6 separate regions of the Homo sapiens genome follow, and regions 1, 2, 3, 4 and 6 are each linked to region 5. Evidence: promoter capture Hi-C in 16 types of primary human blood cells and fetal thymus (Javierre and others, 2016). All regions are on one chromosome and are shown on one strand. The core of a region is centred on a gene start or on the middle of the fragment in contact, and the rest is flanking DNA. Distances in the headings are between cores, read along the strand shown. Region 1 overlaps CADM3 (cell adhesion molecule 3). Region 2 has its middle 16 kb from the start of ACKR1. Region 3 has its middle 23 kb from the start of FCER1A. Region 4 has its middle 14 kb from the start of TRR-TCT4-1. Region 5 holds the start of FCRL6 (Fc receptor like 6). Region 6 has its middle 14 kb from the start of CADM3.

Region 1 (2,823 bases), core at 153-2,652, 600 kb after region 5:
CTCCCAAGTTCTGCTGATGCTCTCTTTGTGCCTCTGACCTTTGTGCCGGATCAAGTAGTGGCCAAGGAAGATGAGCATGATGAGCAGCAGGAAGACAATGAAAGCCACGATCCCACCGATGATGGCGTGGTAGGTGCTGGAGGAGGAGGGCACCGGACTGGGGTCTGGAAGAAAGGGCAACACACACAGTCAGATCTGGGGAGAGCCCTTATCTTATAGCATTCCAACTTGGCCATGAATAGTCTTACACAGCAGGGAACAGGTACTAACATCAGGAAAATGGAGCAGTGTCATTCATCATGCCTTATCTTGTGCTTATACGCCACACCTGTATTATAGTATTTGTTAAAACAAATTGATGGATTAATGAATAAATAAATCTGCCCATACCTAGTCATCTAAGTTGAGTTCTTGGCACTGAAGCTTGGCCTTGGTCAAAGATCATTGCTTTAATGCCTCTCCTTCCTTCCCTCCCTCCCTCCATTTCTTCCTTCCTTCCTTCCTTCCTTCCTCCCTCCCTCCGCCTCTTCTTTTCCTTCCTTCTTCCTGCCTCTCTTCCTTCTTTCCTCTCTCCTCCTGCCCTGTTTCCTTCTTTCTTTTCTCCCTCTTTTTCTTTTTAATTTCTGGGTTATCAGAGTGTTCCTTCTCTGTCCCCATTCCCTCTTACCCTCCTGTCTGCTTGATATTCTGAGCCAGCTCCCCTAGCTCTAAGGGCCTTCTCAGCCTATTCACCCACTGCCCTAAGATCAGATAGGGAAGGAACAGTAAAACCTGATAGAGCCAAGAATTAGGCACTTTGACAGCACCTTACGAAAGATGATAGATGTAAGGGGCCACAATCTATCATCTATGTAAAGAACACTGTTCCTTTGTGGCAGGTGAGTTTAGTGTTCCAGTGAAACCCCAAGCCTCTAGTCTTTCCCAAGGAGGAGGCCTGGGACTCCGTCTTCACTTTGCCACCCTCAAAGTGTTTGTGCAAAGGAAAAGATGCTTTCTCTCATGCTAGTGGATGTCTCTGCCACTGAATATATAGCATCTGTCCTCCATGGCAACCTAGGTAGAGGATTGGCAACCTATGTAGAGGATTGACAACCTGTATAGAGGATCAACAGCACAGACTGGGCCGGGTGTGGCAAAGACATCAGCAGCCACAGCCAGAGTCCCAAATATCTGAGGACTCGCACGGGCCCAGCACACGGTTCTGATGTAGCCATAGACATAACTCTCCCACCCATGGGAGAGCTGCTGTTTTCCATGGACTCAGCTTGAGTCTTAATGCCTCATTGACTCCTTACATATTTTGTCTTTCCTACCTTATGTCTCCTCAGGCTTGGCTGGGCCCGCGTTTCAGTTCCTTGCCTGTCTACACCTTATTTGAAAAGAAAACATTTGTGTTCTGGTTTTTTATGCCCTGCTTGGGAGGAAGGGAGAGGATGAGTCCAGGAAATCTATGATATGATTGGGGTGGAGGTGATGGTGTAACTTGGAGGAAGCAGAGTGAGTTACCTGCTGTCTCTCTCTCAGGGAGTATGCGAGACAGTCCACATGGAAAATCAATCCTGGATACTTATTCCACAGGCTATGGAAATGGCAGTTCCTTAGAAAAGCACAGGTTTCCATGGCCAAACGACCTCTGGGGTCATCAATTACAGGCCCCTGTCTCTAGGTAGAACTGCATTTAATTTCGTTCCAGTCCCGCCCACTTAAGGATATTCCTGGAAGAAGATGCAGTAGCTCCTTCTACCACCAGGCGTCAGCACTGGAAACAGACGCAGTCCAACAGGACTCCCTCTGCCTGGCTGTTGAGCACAAAGCAGAGGGGAGATCAGCAAGATACCAACCACAAGGGCACAAGAACTTTCTCTCACTGCCAATCATCATCAGATTGGTCTGGAGAGATCTGGGGGCAGAGACCGGAGCTCAGTGCATTGTCCTTGCTCTTGGCATCCTACAATAGCCTTGTTGTGCTGAGGCAGCTCCCACATGCTGAGGTCTGCCCCTGGAGTGGGAATCACCCATCCAGACATTCTGATCCCAAGAACTCAGACCTCTTATCGCTGGGAGGCCTGGCTCTTATCCCCTCAACTGTTTTAATGAGTGTCTCAAGTAAGGGAGCCTCTGATGTTTCCCCGACAATGCATTTCCCCTATTCTGAGAAAAGATAAGACTTTCTGGCGGGACCCACAGCCATTGGGATCTTCAAAAAAATCGCCCGTCAACTCTCCATAAAGGGGCCTCTGTGTCACCCTGTCACTACTCCTGAAGCTGGGTTTTGTGGTCACAGCTTTGAGAAGAACTTCAGAGAAGGAGCATCACCTGGTCCTTCTAGAAGATATGGCATCTGAGAAAAGATTCTGTCTCTTGGCATAGTACAAGCTTCTCTCTATTTTCTGTCCAGACCCAGTACACTGTGCTTAAGGTGGGCAGAAAAAAAAATGACAGCAGTTGCATGCACCCAATACCTAGTCTTAGGAGAAGCAACTCTGAGAAGAGCCAGTTAGAGAAGGAAATGCACCTGCGCCTGCACTTGAGAGGCTTTGGGGCCTCTGCACACAGAATTATTGTTCTTGTTGTCAGACAAGTGCAGGGGATGGAAGATGGTGTCACCCAGGCCACCACTACCAAAGAAAGGCAGATGAGAGCCCACCCTTCTAATGTTTTTTCACTAAGCGGCCATTACACATTCTAGAGTGGACCTGGGACCTAAGCCCTCAGGGACCCCAGTGGTGGGCTGGTTTTCCTTTACTCCACTCCCCGTCACAGTTTGGGGATGTTATCAGGAAGCATTTTAAAAAAGGGAATAAGATGGACAGAGAAAGGAGA
Region 2 (2,897 bases), core at 77-2,576, 580 kb after region 5:
AGGAGGAGAACATAGCAGAACAAATCCAAAACTTCACATGGTCCTGTAAGGACAATAATAAGACTAATGCTCACGATACACTGAGGATTCACTATGTGCCAGGAACTGTGCTCAGCACTTTTGCATATATTAACAAACTGATTCCTCAGAAGAGCATGACAAAGTCGATGTCATATTTATCTTCTTGTTATAGATGAAAGATCTAAGAAACAAAGTGGTTAAGTTACTGACCCAAGGCCAAAAACCCAATAAGTAGCAGAGTTGGGATTTTAATCTAAATAAGCTGGTCCAAGAGTTGACACTCTTAACCTCTATGCTCTCCTTCTATCGATTTCGCAATACTCCTCAGGACATTGTATGGCAAGTCAGAGCAGAATGCATAGGGCTTTGGCAAAATATAGTTTCAAATAGCTTTCAAAGGGGATATTCCATGTAAAAGGAAGAAGAAATGATAGAATAAAATGGAGGTGATAAAATGGAAACATGGCAAAGAAAAAGCAACCCTAATAAACTCTTAAATTCTTGCCATGTTCTCCAGAGAGGTTTTTAAGTTGGAAAAGGTAGATTAAATATTGTAGTCTTTAAGCCAAATTAAGAAGGCAAAGCTTCCAGTTTGCTCTAAAATATTAGTGGTTTTAGGATTTTGAAGATATTAACTGGCCCAAAGGGAAATAAGACACATTTGTGCTGTGATTGTAGCATAAAAGTAGAGAGCTCAGGTCAGAAGGTATAAAAGGGAAATATCATGGAAGCCAAGACCCTAAAGACCACGCAGGCCAGCGCTTTGTCCCATTTTACTCCATGTTACCAACTAGATCTGAAGTTTATGCTCAGTTCTGGGTATCACGTTTTGTGGAGAGTATTGACTAATCATTACTCCACCCATGTCCAGAGAAGTAAAAACCAATGGTAAACAATAGGTACTGTGCTGTGTGGAGATCTCTTGGTGGAAATGGGGCTGTCTTATCACTATAGGTGTAGGTCAGGTGCGGTGGCTCATGCCTGTAATCCCAGCACTTTGGGAGGCTGAAGTGGGTGGATCACCTGAGGTCAGGAGTTCGAGACCAGCCTGGCCAACATGGTGAAACCCCGTCTCTACTAAAAATACCAAAGAAAAAAAAAATGAGCCGGGAGTGGCAGCAGACGCCTGTAATCCCAGCTACTCTGGAGGCTGAGGCAGGAGAATCGCTCCAACCCAGGAGGGGAGGCTTCAGTGAGCCAAAGTCGTGCCATTGCACTCTAGCCCGGGCAACAAGAGCAAAACTCCAACTCGAGCAACAACAACAAGAACAATAAAACCATAGGTATAACATTTGAATGGTAATTCACTATTTACAAAGTGCTTTCACAGGCATTATTTTCCTTGATCCCAACAACATTCTTCACCAGTAAATACTCCTAGCCCATTTAACAAAAGTTCAGAGGAGGAAATCAAGATGGTAGCAGAACTGGAACTGAGTTTAAGCCAAAGGCTCTGCTCACTATAACCAAGCTCCCTTATTGTTGCTGTCTTCAAAGATCTGAAAGACAATCATGTAGAAGAGGGGTTAGATTGTCCTCTTAGCTCTATCTGAGCTCTAAAGTATAAATAACTTTTCAGCACCCTGACCCTGTTCAAATGGAGCCAACAGGATGACACATAAAGTTATTCCACTGATGGGAAATTTAGTCTATTAGAGCAGTGGTTCTCAGACTTCTACATTTCATGAACAAAACAACAACAATAATAAATGGAGAACTTACATGGGATTAACAATTTTACCACCTACCTTTTGTCAGCTCACTGAAAAAAAAAGAAACTGAACAGCAAGGAAAGAACAGCTTACTGCCACACTGCCTTTCTGTATTCCATTTTGCTACAGACTGGTTAAAAAAAAAAAAAAAAAGTCACAAATTGGCAACAATCCACAGACCATTATTTGGGAAACATTGGATTAGAGAGTTTTTAAGGTTCTTTCTAATTTTAAAAATAGTACGACTTTAAATCATGTATTTTGGTACTTAATTATGCCTTTCTTAAATTTTAGCTAACATCTTGAAAGCTTACTCAGTGCCAAGCAATGTGTTAAGTTCTGTACATGTCAGTCAATTTAATGCTCCAAATAACCCAATGTAAAAGATACTGCTGGTCTACTTTCATTGGAAACTAAGACTCAGAGAAGTTCTGTGACTTGTCTCAGGTTGCACAGCTGAATTGAACTTTGATATCTAACTTCAGTGCCTCTACTTTTAACGACTGCTGTAAGAGCGAATGTTTGTGTCCCATCAAAATTCATATGTTGAAATCCTAACCCCCAATATAATGGTTAGGAGGTGGGGCCTTTGGAGCAAGATTAGGTCATGAAGGCTTAAGTGCCATTATAAAAGAGACCCCAGAGACTCCCCTTGTCCCTTCTGCCACATGAGGACATGAAAGAAGGCAACTGTCTAAGAACCAGGAAACTGGACCTCACCGGATGCCGAATCTGCCAGCACTTTGATCTAGGACTTTCCAGCATGGAGAACTGTGAGAAATGGATGTTTGTTGTTCATAAGCCACCCGGCCTATGGCATTTTGTTATAGCAGTCTGAAGAGACTAAGACAACTGTGTTATATGCCTTCTATTATATTATTAATATTAATAAAATATTTCAAGTATTAAAATTTTTATAGACTCTGAGTTCGTAGAAACCAAGGTCTGTATGTTTTTCATTTCTGAATTCCACAATAACAGTACAATATCTACACTGCATTGTACCCTAAAACTTAAAATATAATAAATAAAAAAAAATTAAGATGTTTACTGAATGCCTACTAGAGTTCAGCTACTCAGCTTGGCTGAGGCACACAGAAGGTATTTGTTGATTAGTTGGTCAGCAAATTCATATAGGAGAATTTTGAATCTATGATTAGTAAA
Region 3 (3,003 bases), core at 230-2,729, 520 kb after region 5:
TGGATTGACAGGTTGTATTTAGTCCTGAGAAGACTTTCTGAGGAGGAGGAGACTCAAGTCAAGCATTGAAAAAAGAGAGGAACATCTCTTGTTTTAAAAAATCTGGGGTGACAGTCAGGTTTGAAGCTGTTTGATGACTTATGAAAAGAGTTTGTGAAACAAGCAGACAGGAGCAACAGGGAGAAAGTAAACACTTATGTTATGTTGGAGCAGAGAGCATTGTCTTGTTTGGCAACCCAGAAAGAAAGATCTTTAAAGAGACAATCGAAATTGTGGTTTAAACAAAGTGGAAGAGGTTGAAAAATTTGTTTTAGGTAAACAAAATCTGAAACTGTAATATAAAAGAAAATTCCTTTCAAATTTAACTATGCATTTCCTATTTCTTTAGCCTAGTTTTTCTCTAACACTTATGTGCTAGGTCACCAAGAAATCTTTTTCAAACTTACCCCGGTGTCTTTTCTTCCATTTTTTCATCCCTATTTAGTCCCATATATATATATATACACACACACACACATTGTCATGCATGAAATTGTTTTCTTATCGTGTTTTTCTGTCTATATCTATAGGTGAACAGTCGTCCCCAATAACTTGGCATCCATCCACGAACAGAATCCTTATTATCTTCTTAGATGATTCACCTGCTCAAAGCATTGGGCACTGATGTCTTCTGACTAATTGACCTAAGTCTCTGTACTTTCAATCTGTTTATTTATCCAACGAAGAGAGAGAACCACACAGTGATAAGGGAGTTTGTTTTCCAGGGTTTCTCCAGCTTTCATGAACACAAGCTTACCCTCTTTGTGGTATTTCTTACCTTGTGTCTTTTAACCCTGGCTGGCAATGTCATAATTGTGACAATTATCAGCATTGATCGTCACCTTCACACCCCCATGTACTTCTTTGTTAGTATGCTTTCCACTTCAGAGACTGTCTACACATTAGTCATTGTACCACGGATGCTCTCCAGTCTCTTAAGTCTAAGCCAACCTATCTCTTTGGGTGGCTGTGCCACCCAGATGTTTTTTTTATTACCTTGGCCATCAACAACTGCTTTCTGCTCACAGCAATGGGGTATGATCGCTATGTGGCCATCTGTAACCCTTTGAGGTACATGATCATCATGAACAAGAAAGTGTGTGTCCAGCTGGTATGTGGGTCCTGCAGTGTTGGGCTGCTTGTGGCCATAGTTCAGATTTCATCTGTGTTCAGGCTGCCTTTTTGTGATAAACAGGTGGCCCATTATTTCTGTGATATCCACCCAGTTATGAAACTTTCCTGTGTTGATACCACTCTACATGACCTAATTAATTTTGTTGTTAGTTCCCTGGTTATTGTGGTGCCGCTGGGTTTGGTCTTCATCTCCTACATCCTCATCATCTCTACCATCCTCAAGGTCACCTCTCCTGAGGGCCGGAAAAAGGCTTTTGCAACTTGTGCCTCCCACCTCACTGTGGTTATCATCCACTATGGCTGTGCCTCCATTGCCTACCTCAAGCCCAAGTCAGAGAACACCAGGGATCAGGACCAGCTAATTTCAGTGACATACACCGTCTTTACTCCACTACTTAATCCTGTTGTGTACACTTTGAGGAACAAGGAGGTCAAGAATGCCCTTCACCGTGCTATTGGCAAAAAACCTTTTGCCTAGAATCTTCATCAGTTTGACATATAGTCAGTCATAGTCTGGGTATTTTTTTAAGCTCGAGAAAATTGAATCCTATCATTCATCCTCTAACCAAAGAGAGTTGCAAAATTTGGTGGTAATGCGACATTAAGGAACCAAGAGTCTCCATGATTTGACTTTGTTTTTACCATCATTCTCCTATACCTTCTACTAACCACACAGGTTACCACCAGGGGAGTGGTCAGTTGCTGCTCACACAGGGGCAAAGCTGTAGGGAATCGTAAGCAAGGAGTAGCTGATTGTTATCATTTGTTGAAAGCAGAAAAGTGGGTGGCATAACACCTATTGGAAGTACTAGGTTGACAGGTCAACCTAAATGTCATATAGATATTGAGCTCTAAAACTTTAAAGAGGACATGGTTGGTGTACAGGGTGTCTTGAAAACAGTCAAAACTACCTTCCCACTTATCATCACTTTCTACTTTAAGCATTGACAAGAGTAGCAAATCTTGACATTCCAGAAAAAATATTATAAGCTTTAAACATTCTCATCTGCCTTGGAGACCCATGAAATTGTTTTCCAATTTTGTTGAGGCTCACATTAGAACTATTTCCTCGGTGAGACTCTGTTACCAGTATGTTCAGTGTTAGTAAGCAACATGGTCACATCCAACCTCTGAATTTCACTGTGCTTATGTATGCTTTCTGTGGGAGTAACACATGCTATACTGAATTCACAAATATAGGGATATCTGATATCTGAGGATTTTTTGTAATTGAGTTTATTTTTATCACCTTCCAACTAATGCTTGCTGACTTAGATCTGGAAATTAGCCCATGATTTTCATTCTTCTCTGTGTAGAACATAATCTGATCCATGCCTTGCCTTTACCCTTTTCATTTCTACACGGAAGTCCATGTCTTGCCTTTACCCTTTTCGTGGAAATCCATGCTACAAGGCAATCCATGCCTTGCCTTTAACCCTTTTCATTTCTACATGGATGAATTTATTTTCTGTGTATAGTTGGGTACCTAGTTTAAATTCTAAGTTTAAATACAGTTCTAAACAAGAGTCTGGGAGTTTATTGTCTTCTAAAGGAGAAAGTTATTTTGATTTGCGAGAAAGGATTAAGATTTTAGATTTATTCGGCCTGGAGAAAAAAAGACAGAACTTGCCATATGCCTTCCGGTCCATAAAGGGCTGGTTAAAAAACATCAATCTGTATCTGTCACCTACCAAAACTGTCCAAGTGTCCCCTTTGAAAATGTATTGAAAGTGCCTGTAAAATAAAGGATCTGGGAATCCCTAAAGGTGGAAGGCCCAAGAAAGGAAACCTTCATGTTTATGAAACATTGCCTGAAACAGTAAAAGATTT
Region 4 (3,041 bases), core at 525-3,024, 670 kb after region 5:
CTGTTCTGAGGGCATGATTCCATTTAATTCCTACACAGCCTCTCCTACAGAGGTACTTTTTATTGTTATCCTGTTTTTTTGAGATAAGGAAACTGAGGCATAGAATGGTACTCTGAGTAACCAACATCACATAGTAAGTGGTGGAGACAGCATTGATACCCAGTCAATCTAGCTTGAGACTTGCACCATTAACCACAGTGTCCTATTGTTGGGTTCACAACCTGGCTGTAGACTCAACCCTTAGTACTGTAACTGAAGAGAAGGTGGATAGAGCAGGTACAAATGCAGTTGTCAGCTTAGTTAGCATCATGAATTTTCTAGAGATGCCATAACAAATTTCCCCAAACTGGGTGCCTCAGAAATTACAGAGATTTATTCTGTCAAAGTTTTGGAACCCAGAAGTCCAAAATCAAGGTCAAGATGTAAGCAGATTTTCACTCCTCTGAACAAGCTTCTTAGCTTGGGTCTGCATACTTCCAAACTCTGCCTCTGTCTTTACCTGGCCATCTTTTCTGTGTCTCAGATCTCTCTCTGCATTTCTCTGTAAGGATGCCTGCCATTGGATTCCAGGCCCGCCCTAAATCTACAATGATCTCATCTCAAGATCCTTACATTAATTACATCTGCAAGATGCTTTTTACAAATGAGGTCACATTCATAGGTTTTAAATGTTAAAACCTGGGCATGTCTTTTTGGGGTCCACTGTTCAATCCACTGCAGTTAGGAGATTGGATGAGTTTCTGACAAGTGGACTTGATAATTTCTGTGAGGTAACAATGTGGGTTATTTGCTGAGAATGTGTCCCAATGTAGAGGGATCAAACATATAAGGGGAGTGAAGAAATCTTGAAGTATCATTATTAAAATATGAAGAGTGAGCTGACTAGGAAATGTAGTTTGTGGAGCAGTGTGGAGAACCAGATGAAGTTTATTGTCATGAATTTATAGTTGTGTGATTTTCCCTAGCAATGATTAGCAGCCCGGGTGCAAACACTGAGGAAGCTGAGAGTTAAAGTATCTAGATCCTGGAAAGAGGGGGTGTGGGAGGGAAGGAAGGACAAAGGCAGAGGGGGTTAGGATACTGGCAAGTGGCTTTCCATGGAAGGCCATAGAGGTGAAGAAGTCGGATAGAGGACTACTGGCTTGGTCAAAAGCAGTCAAAAGAGTGGGAGTAACTGAGTGAACTCGCTATAACGATACTAGGCCATTCTCCAAGTACAGAATATTTATTACTTTAAACACACAAAAAAATCTGGATTAGTGGTTGCAGTAAAGGCAAATAGAAGTTTAATGGAGATAGAAAACTCAAAGGAAAGAGAGGACGGGATTCTGGACAGGCCACTCGTGTAACCCCAGAGTCATGCAGAAAAATGGCAGGGCTTGGGGTGGTGTGTGTGTGTGTGTGTGTGTGTGTGTGTAAGCCTTGGCACATAAGATGACAATTTATAACAAAGCAATTATTTTATTGTGGGTTTATGATACATTTTTTATTATCACACTCCTATCACCATATCTGGCAACTATTTTATACTAAGCACTGTGCTGAGAGATGGGGAGGTTGCAATAAACAAGACATACAAAGTCCTGACTCTCCAGAGGCATGTGTTCTACTAGGAGAGACTGACAAAAAGAAAAGAAACAGAAACAAGTAAACAAAGTTGTTGCAGTTTGTAATGAGTTTGTTATGAAGGGAACAGATTAAGAGATTGCAGCAGAGACTGATGGGCAGACTAACTTTGGTTAAGATGAAAAAGAAGGCACTTTCAGTTGGTGACATGAGAAGTAGGGAGATGAATACTCCAGGGAAAGGGCTGCTACAACAAAGTGCCACAGACCTGGTGGTTTATAAACAACAGAAATTTATTTCTCACAGTTCTGGAGGCTATGAGAAATCCAGCCTTGGGAAGTCCAAGGTCAAGGCAGATACAGTGTGTGGTGAGGGCCCACTTGCTGACCCATAGATGGCTATGTCCTCATGTGGTGGAAACAAGGAACAAACTTCCTTGTCCCTCTTTCATAAGAGCACTTATGAAATCCCATTAGGGATCCCATTAAGGATCCCAACAGGGAATAGTTTTGCTGCGTCATAGATTACATTTCTGATCAGCTTCACCAAGGTATTCTTTCTTGCTTCCCAAAGTGATACTATCCATTTTAGATTGTGTTTTCATTACTGATAATACCAGAGACTTTGCCTCCCAATGGCCCCATGCCATCACATTGGGATTGGGATTTCAACATAGGAATTTTGTGGGGACACAGACATTCAGACCATAACACTAGTCAGGGCCGACACTGATCTGTTACTTGACTCAAGATAGTGTGGCGTGAGAGCAGAGGCGACCCTAAGGGCCCCGTGCACATTTGGGTTACATTAATTTTTTATTGTGAAATAAATTATACATACCCTAGGGTATATGGAATGTATATGAACCATTTAGAAAGTATAATCACAATAATAAAATAAACACTCAGGATCCTACCAGTCAGCTTAAAATGAGAACATCACTAGTTCTTTGAAGACTCTCGGGTGAACCTCATCAATTGCATTCTTTCTCAGTCCCTAGGGGTAGGTAACCAATCATCCCCTGGCTTGTTTATAGTTTTATTTCACATATAGCTATCCCCAAATAATATATTACTTTGTTTTGCTTTTTAAACTTTATGTAAGTGGAAACATATTCTTATATGAGTTGTTTTTGGCCCCTTTACCATTGTGTTTTGAGGTTTGTCCATGTTCTTGAATATACAACAGTTTATGTTCATTAATGGATAATGCTCCATGGTGTGAGTATAACACAATGTATTAATGCATTCTGCCTTTGATGGACATGCAGTTTTTTTCCAGGTTTTTTGTCTATTATAAACAATGCTGTTGGAATAATCTTATATCTCCTAGAGCAAGCAATTTCAGATTATACACTTGGGAATTGGATTGCTGAGTCATAGTTTATATTCCTGTTCGGTTTCACCAGGGTATGCTTTCTTGCTTTCCAAAGTAATTCTATCAATTTTTTTTTTTTTTTTTTTGAGACGTAGTCT
Region 5 (2,830 bases), core at 264-2,763:
TGTTGCTACACACCCAGCCCCAGTGTCTGTGTTTTAGGCTGTTTTTCCAGGGTCCCTGAGCATCAAGTGGGACCAAATTTGCTGGTGCTGGATTCTCCATTACACTGTGCACCAGTCAGCCGGTCACTGATTCCCTTCCTCTCCTCATTTGCTGTCTGTCATCCTCGTCCTGGGTTCCAAGCTGGAACACTCTCAGACTGTATCTAGACAAGTCCAAGGGCTGTTCCTTTTACAAGGTAGTGCCGGTAGTGCCATTTGCCCCTGGGAGTCTTCTGCCTGGAGTATATCCAGGCATTAGGCTATCCTGTCCCCGCCTCAGTGTGAGCATTAGACCTTTTCATTTGTCCAAATGGCCATTCATAGAACACACGAGTAGCATGCTATGCTGGAGAAGGAACATTGAGTGGAAGGGGCATTTTCCTCACAGGGTCAAATTCTCACAAACTCTGTCCAGGAAGAGGTTATATTTAGGAACAGTTTTGCTTTTCTAGTTCAAGGAATACAAATAGCAAGCAAGCTATTGGGACCAAGAATTAAACAAAAAGTAGGTCCACTTGGAAACTGTAAAGTGAAACAAAATATATGCCAAATTATTTCTTTTAGGTATAAGGGGGGTGACACTGGCTGAGACTGAGCTGGGTCTGGGGGAGCCCAGTGACCCTCTGCGTGCAATCCTCTACCCTTAGACCAGCTCTCTTAGTTACAAGTAGCCTGCATGAGAAGAAATGGAGAGAAGAGAGAGAGAGACATGGATCAGACAATGGAGTTGATTCTTCAAACCAGCCCCATGGATCTGAAACAGCTCCCAACAGAGAGAAGATGTAGGCGGAAGAGAGACAGTCAATTTGAAAAGGGCTTTGGTTACTCAGAGCACAGGCCTTTCAACCAGGTGAGAGGTCTGGCCATTGTTACCTGGTTCTAAGAAAATGCTGAGGCTCCATAAAAATATGTCACCCTGTAAAATTCCACCTCCCATTGCTGAGCAAAATGCCTGGGACTGTTTCCCCTCATTTCCCTGACTCCTTCCCTGTTGCCCCCAGCAGCCTCCTTCCCTCCTGCAACCTCCATTTCCTTTTGAGACAGCTCTGATTAGTATTTTAACCTGATGTCACAAGGTAGAAATGTCATTGGGAAGTTAGGGGACTTTGTAATGTGATTTTCTGCCTCCCTAATTTATCTCTGACATATCAAAGGGCTGCGCTGCCAAGGACCCAGGACTACGGGGTAGGAAACACTGAGGAGTTTCTCCTACCCCAGTGCCCATCTCTCCCAAGCATGCCCAGGTGCACACACCTGTCTTGAGCTCCAGCCACAAACCCACTGGAATTGGGAAAGGTAAGATGAGGAACTTGGTGTCTCAGGGATGACTTACGGTCCTTAGTGCTCCAAGAGGGGATGCCCATGCTCGTTGACTTACCAAAGAGCAGCACAGCCGTCCAGAGCAGCATGGGGCCTGTTCTGGCACAGCGGAGGGAACACAGGTCAGAAACAGGTCAGGGCGAAGCCGGCAGAGAGCAACCAGGCCTCAGGACCGAAGGTGGGTGGGTGGCCTGAGCTGGGTGGTGCTATAGCTTGATAGCCAAAATAGGAAGTGGAAAAGAAACTTACAAAGCTCTAATTGATATTTCCTCTTTGGTTGAAGAAGTATTACATGAATAAATTTTCCTGAACACTAAGTATGAAGGAGTCGGTAAATCACTAATAAATCCCTGACATTTTCTGCAGCTTCAACAAGCCTATGCCAGGGAACTAGGATGGAACATGGTTATGGGACACCTCCATTAGAAAGGTCCAGAGACTGCCCGAATTTGCTTGGCTTCAGCGTCATTCAGCCTGGGAGACAGCGCAGCACTGTAAAACTAAGATCATCTACCCCTTGACCACCGAGTGACCTCCCAGCTTCCAAGGAGCTCCTGTCTCCAGAGGTAAATGTGTGTGGATGCTGCAATGCGATGGAGAAGTGGAGCCCTGAGGATGCTTCACAGGATCCTCAGTTCAGGAGGGAATCAGACATCGATGAGTCTGGAGTAGAACACAGATGGAGCTTCGGCATCTGAGGCTTTTAAGACTGTCAGTATGATTTTGAGAACTATTCCTTAAAAGACACCATTAAGAGAAGGAACAGGCAAGCTGTGGTGTGATGAGATAGTTTAAATACATGTAGCTGACAAAGGGCCCACAGAAGAAATATAAGAATTTCTGCAAGTCAGTAAGAAAAGGACAGACAACATACTAGAAAAATGGGCAAAAATAATTGGATAGGTACTTCACAGAAGCAGATATCCACGTGTCAAATCAACATAGCAAAAGGAGCTAGACATCATAAATCACCGTGGAAATGCAAATTTAAACCATAATAAGATACCACTACACCTTCCATAAGAATAAGGGAGTGATACCAGCTGAGACTGAGCTGGGTCTGGGGGAGCCCGTGACCCTCCCCATGCAATCCTCTACTGAGTATTGGTGAGGATGTGAAGAAACTAGAACTCTTGTACACCACTAGTGGGAATATAAATTGGTACAGTCACTAGAAAATGGCTTGGCAGAATCTACCAAAACTAAACACAGGGATCCCTGATGGCTCAGCATTTTCACTCCTGGGTAAATGTCAAACAGAAATGTATACATATAAGCCTGAAAAAACATATACAAGAGTGCTCATAGCAGCATCATTTGTAATAGATAAAAACTGGAAATTATTCAATGTTCCCTCAACAGAAAAAGAGGTCACACATTCTCATCTCCTCTGTGGACAGAACATGGGAGTTCACGGTGAAACACAGAGTCAGGCAAAATACTAGGAAGCATTTTCATTTTCTTGTTTCTT
Region 6 (2,761 bases), core at 207-2,706, 650 kb after region 5:
CTACCAACATAGAAAGATACAGAAGGTATGTTGTTCAGTGAAAATACAAAGAAAATACACATACTGCTATCCCTTTTGTGTAAAATGGGAAAAAAGCATAAAACATATACATATGTGTATGTAAAATCTTATATGCATATAAATATGTGTTTAAGTAAATGAATAGTTACTTACTGGCTGTGTGACTTCAGGCAAGATACTTAACCGCCTCAGCATTTTTTTTCATTGTGTGGAAAATAGAGATAATTTTACATGACCCCTAGGGTGGTATGATGTGAAAATTAAATAAATTAATCTATTTAAATTGCTTTAAATAGCGCCTGGCACATAGTAGGCACTTGAGTGTTTCTATTGTTCAGATGCATATTAAACTTGGAAAATTATTTTCTGGGCCAGGAGTGAGACTTAAGTCATAAGGGGGACTATAATTGTCCATATTATATACTTCATATTTTTATAATGTGTGCCTATGTATTGAATGATTAATTTTTTTTAAATTAAATGCTTATTCTAAGAATATGAGTTAAAAGATGATTATAGAAATCCAGGAACAAAGTAAAAGAGTCCTGAGCAAGGGCAGTGGAATTGGGAATGGAAAAGAGGTGCTACGTTTGGTGTTGGTTATGGGAAGCAAGACAGAGGGAGAAGGCTGAGGCAGCTCTCAGTTTTGGCTTTTGAGTGACTTGGAAAATGCTGAACCATGAAAAGAAATAGTGGAATTAGGAGAAGCTTTTTGTGGGGTTTAGTATTTTGGAATGAAGGAGGATTAGTGTCTTACTTGAGGCTGCTAAAACAGAATACCATAAACTATGTGGCTTAAACAACAGACTTTGGTTTCTCACAGTTCTGGAGGCTGGGAAGTCCAAGATCAAGGTACTGGTGGATTTGATTCCTGTTGAGTGTCCTCTTCGTGGTTTGCAGACAGCCACCTTCTCAATGTGTCTTCACATGGTGGAAAAAGAGATTGTCTCCCTGTGTCTCTTCTTATAATGACACTAATTCCATTTATTAGAGTTCCACCTTCATGACCAAATCACCTCTCATAGGACTCACATCTAAATACATGAGGGATTAGAGTGTTAACATCTAAATTTGCAGGAGACATAATCAATTTGTAACAATTTTGTTAGATTACATTGAGTTTAAGCTGAGGGCAACCCATCAAGTAGGAAATATTGAATAGACTGGATATGAAAACTGGAGCTCTGGAGAAAGTTGAACGTTCTACCACTTTGAAGTAGACCAGCAGAAGAAGCCTAAAGTTCTCAGTGTCATTTTAAGAGTTCCCATCTAATACTTGCATTACAAAAATCAAGAACTGTGGTATTATAGGATGATATGTGTCTAGGAGGACAAAGACCTGTTCTAGTGGTTTTGATTGTTGATTCTTTTTCTTTGGTAAACATACATTGAACAACTACCATGTGCCAGGCACTGCCCAGACTATCAAGGGTAAAAAAACTCAAGTTTCTCTCTCTCTGGTAGGAACAGAGATTCACAAAATTGAGTACGTTACAGAGTGCTCAGTCCTCCGATAGCCATATGCACAGGGTGCAGTAATGGTGTGAAGATGGGTGTGATCCAGTCTGCTTGGGGTTGTGGTGGATGTCAGGGAAGATATTATAAAAAATGAGGTGATTGAAACTGAGTCTTCAAAGAGGAGGAACAGTCTTCCAGACAGATGTGAGGGTGGAGACAGGAGAAAGGCATTCCAAAAAGAGAAACCATTGCAGCATACCAAGTCATATTAGTATGGAAAACGAACCTTTTTTTTTTCATTTTGAGAACTCTAAGTACTTATTGTAAAATGTAAGCTGAGAGGGGAGGCTGGGGGATAATAGTAACTGATGTTGCAAAAATGGACGGGAATCAGATCACAGATGGCTTTTAGTCTCTTCTTTAGACAAGAGAGAACTTTAAGGGGTTTTGCCTTCAAGAAAAATTATAATTGCTCTGTTGGTGGTGTAGCTGATTGGCAGAAAGGCAGCAGGGATGGTTACACGTAGACAAGTGAGGGATTATTAACATATCAAATAGTCCTGGCTGCATCATCCTGATACCAAAGCCTGGCAGAAACACAACAAAAAAAGAGAATTTTAGACCAATATCCCTGATGAACATTGATGTGAAAATCCTCAATAAAATACTGGCAATCCAAATCCAGCAGCACATCAAAAAGCTTACCCACCATGATCAAGTCAGCTTCATCCCTGGGATGCAAGGCTGGTTCAACATACACAAATCAATAAACGTAATCCATCACATGAACAGATCCAACGACAAAAACCACATGATTATCTCAATAGATGCAGAGAAGGCCTTTGACAAAATTCAACACCCCTTCAAGCTAAAAACTCTCAATAAACTAGGTATTGATGGAAGGTATCTCAAAATAATAAGAGCTATTTATGACAAACCCACAGCCAATATCATACTGAATGGGCAAAAACTGGAAGCATTCCCTTATAAAACTGGCACCAGACAAGGATGCCCTCTCTCATCACTCCTATTCAACATTGTATTGGAAGTTCTGGCCAGGGCAATCAGGCAGGAGAAGGAAATAAAGGGTATTCAATTAGGAAAAGAGGAAGTCAAATTGTCCCTGTTTGCAGATGACAAGATTGTATACTTAGAAAACCCCATCTTCTCAGCCCCAAAACTCTTAAGCTGATAAGCAACTTCAGCAAAGTCTCAGGATACAAAATCAATGTGCAAAAATCATAAGCATTCCTATTCTCCACCAATAACAGACAGAGAGCCA

Evidence for each region. Contacts are between HindIII fragments. The CHiCAGO score rates a contact against its expected background, and 5 or more counts as called.
Region 1: a contact is called between a fragment that was not itself captured here and the fragment with the promoter of FCRL6 in region 5, in 5 of 17 cell types (endothelial precursors, megakaryocytes, M2 macrophages and 2 more). The highest score is 15.9, in endothelial precursors.
Region 2: a contact is called between a fragment that was not itself captured here and the fragment with the promoter of FCRL6 in region 5, in 6 of 17 cell types (megakaryocytes, endothelial precursors, M2 macrophages and 3 more). The highest score is 19.7, in megakaryocytes.
Region 3: a contact is called between a fragment that was not itself captured here and the fragment with the promoter of FCRL6 in region 5, in 1 of 17 cell types (M2 macrophages). The highest score is 5.3, in M2 macrophages.
Region 4: a contact is called between a fragment that was not itself captured here and the fragment with the promoter of FCRL6 in region 5, in 6 of 17 cell types (endothelial precursors, M2 macrophages, M1 macrophages and 3 more). The highest score is 13.2, in endothelial precursors.
Region 6: a fragment that was not itself captured here is called in contact with the fragment with the promoter of FCRL6 in region 5 in 4 of 17 cell types (endothelial precursors, megakaryocytes, M2 macrophages and 1 more); the score reaches 15.2 in endothelial precursors.

The regions. Positions count from the first base shown.
Region 1 is chr1:159,197,092-159,199,914 of GRCh38, reverse strand. CADM3 (cell adhesion molecule 3) reads right to left here. Exons shown (of 9, transcript NM_001127173.3): 8 at 39-164. It overlaps CADM3-AS1 (CADM3 antisense RNA 1), which reads left to right. Exons shown (of 4, transcript NR_037870.1): 3 at 56-129; 4 at 1,694-2,823. Among named protein-coding and RNA genes, the nearest start is that of CADM3-AS1, 3.9 kb to the left of the region's middle. The HindIII fragment of the contact is 1,953 bases long and covers 426-2,378 here.
Region 2 is chr1:159,219,710-159,222,606 of GRCh38, reverse strand. No RefSeq gene overlaps it. Among named protein-coding and RNA genes, the nearest start is that of ACKR1, 16 kb to the right of the region's middle. The HindIII fragment of the contact is 1,437 bases long and covers 608-2,044 here.
Region 3 is chr1:159,277,689-159,280,691 of GRCh38, reverse strand. It overlaps the pseudogene OR10J2P. Among named protein-coding and RNA genes, the nearest start is that of FCER1A, 23 kb to the left of the region's middle. The HindIII fragment of the contact is 1,372 bases long and covers 794-2,165 here.
Region 4 is chr1:159,126,637-159,129,677 of GRCh38, reverse strand. It overlaps a transcript of AIM2 not described here. Among named protein-coding and RNA genes, the nearest start is that of TRR-TCT4-1, 14 kb to the left of the region's middle. The HindIII fragment of the contact is 2,642 bases long and covers 454-3,041 here.
Region 5 is chr1:159,801,043-159,803,872 of GRCh38, reverse strand. FCRL6 (Fc receptor like 6) reads right to left here and starts at 1,513. Exons shown (of 10, transcript NM_001004310.3): 1 at 1,418-1,513. The coding sequence starts at 1,448. LOC105371464 (a long non-coding RNA gene) reads left to right here. Exons shown (of 3, transcript XR_922195.2): 1 at 1-1,335; 2 at 1,726-1,925. The HindIII fragment of the contact is 5,270 bases long and covers 1-2,830 here.
Region 6 is chr1:159,156,032-159,158,792 of GRCh38, reverse strand. No RefSeq gene overlaps it. Among named protein-coding and RNA genes, the nearest start is that of CADM3, 14 kb to the left of the region's middle. The HindIII fragment of the contact is 1,450 bases long and covers 732-2,181 here.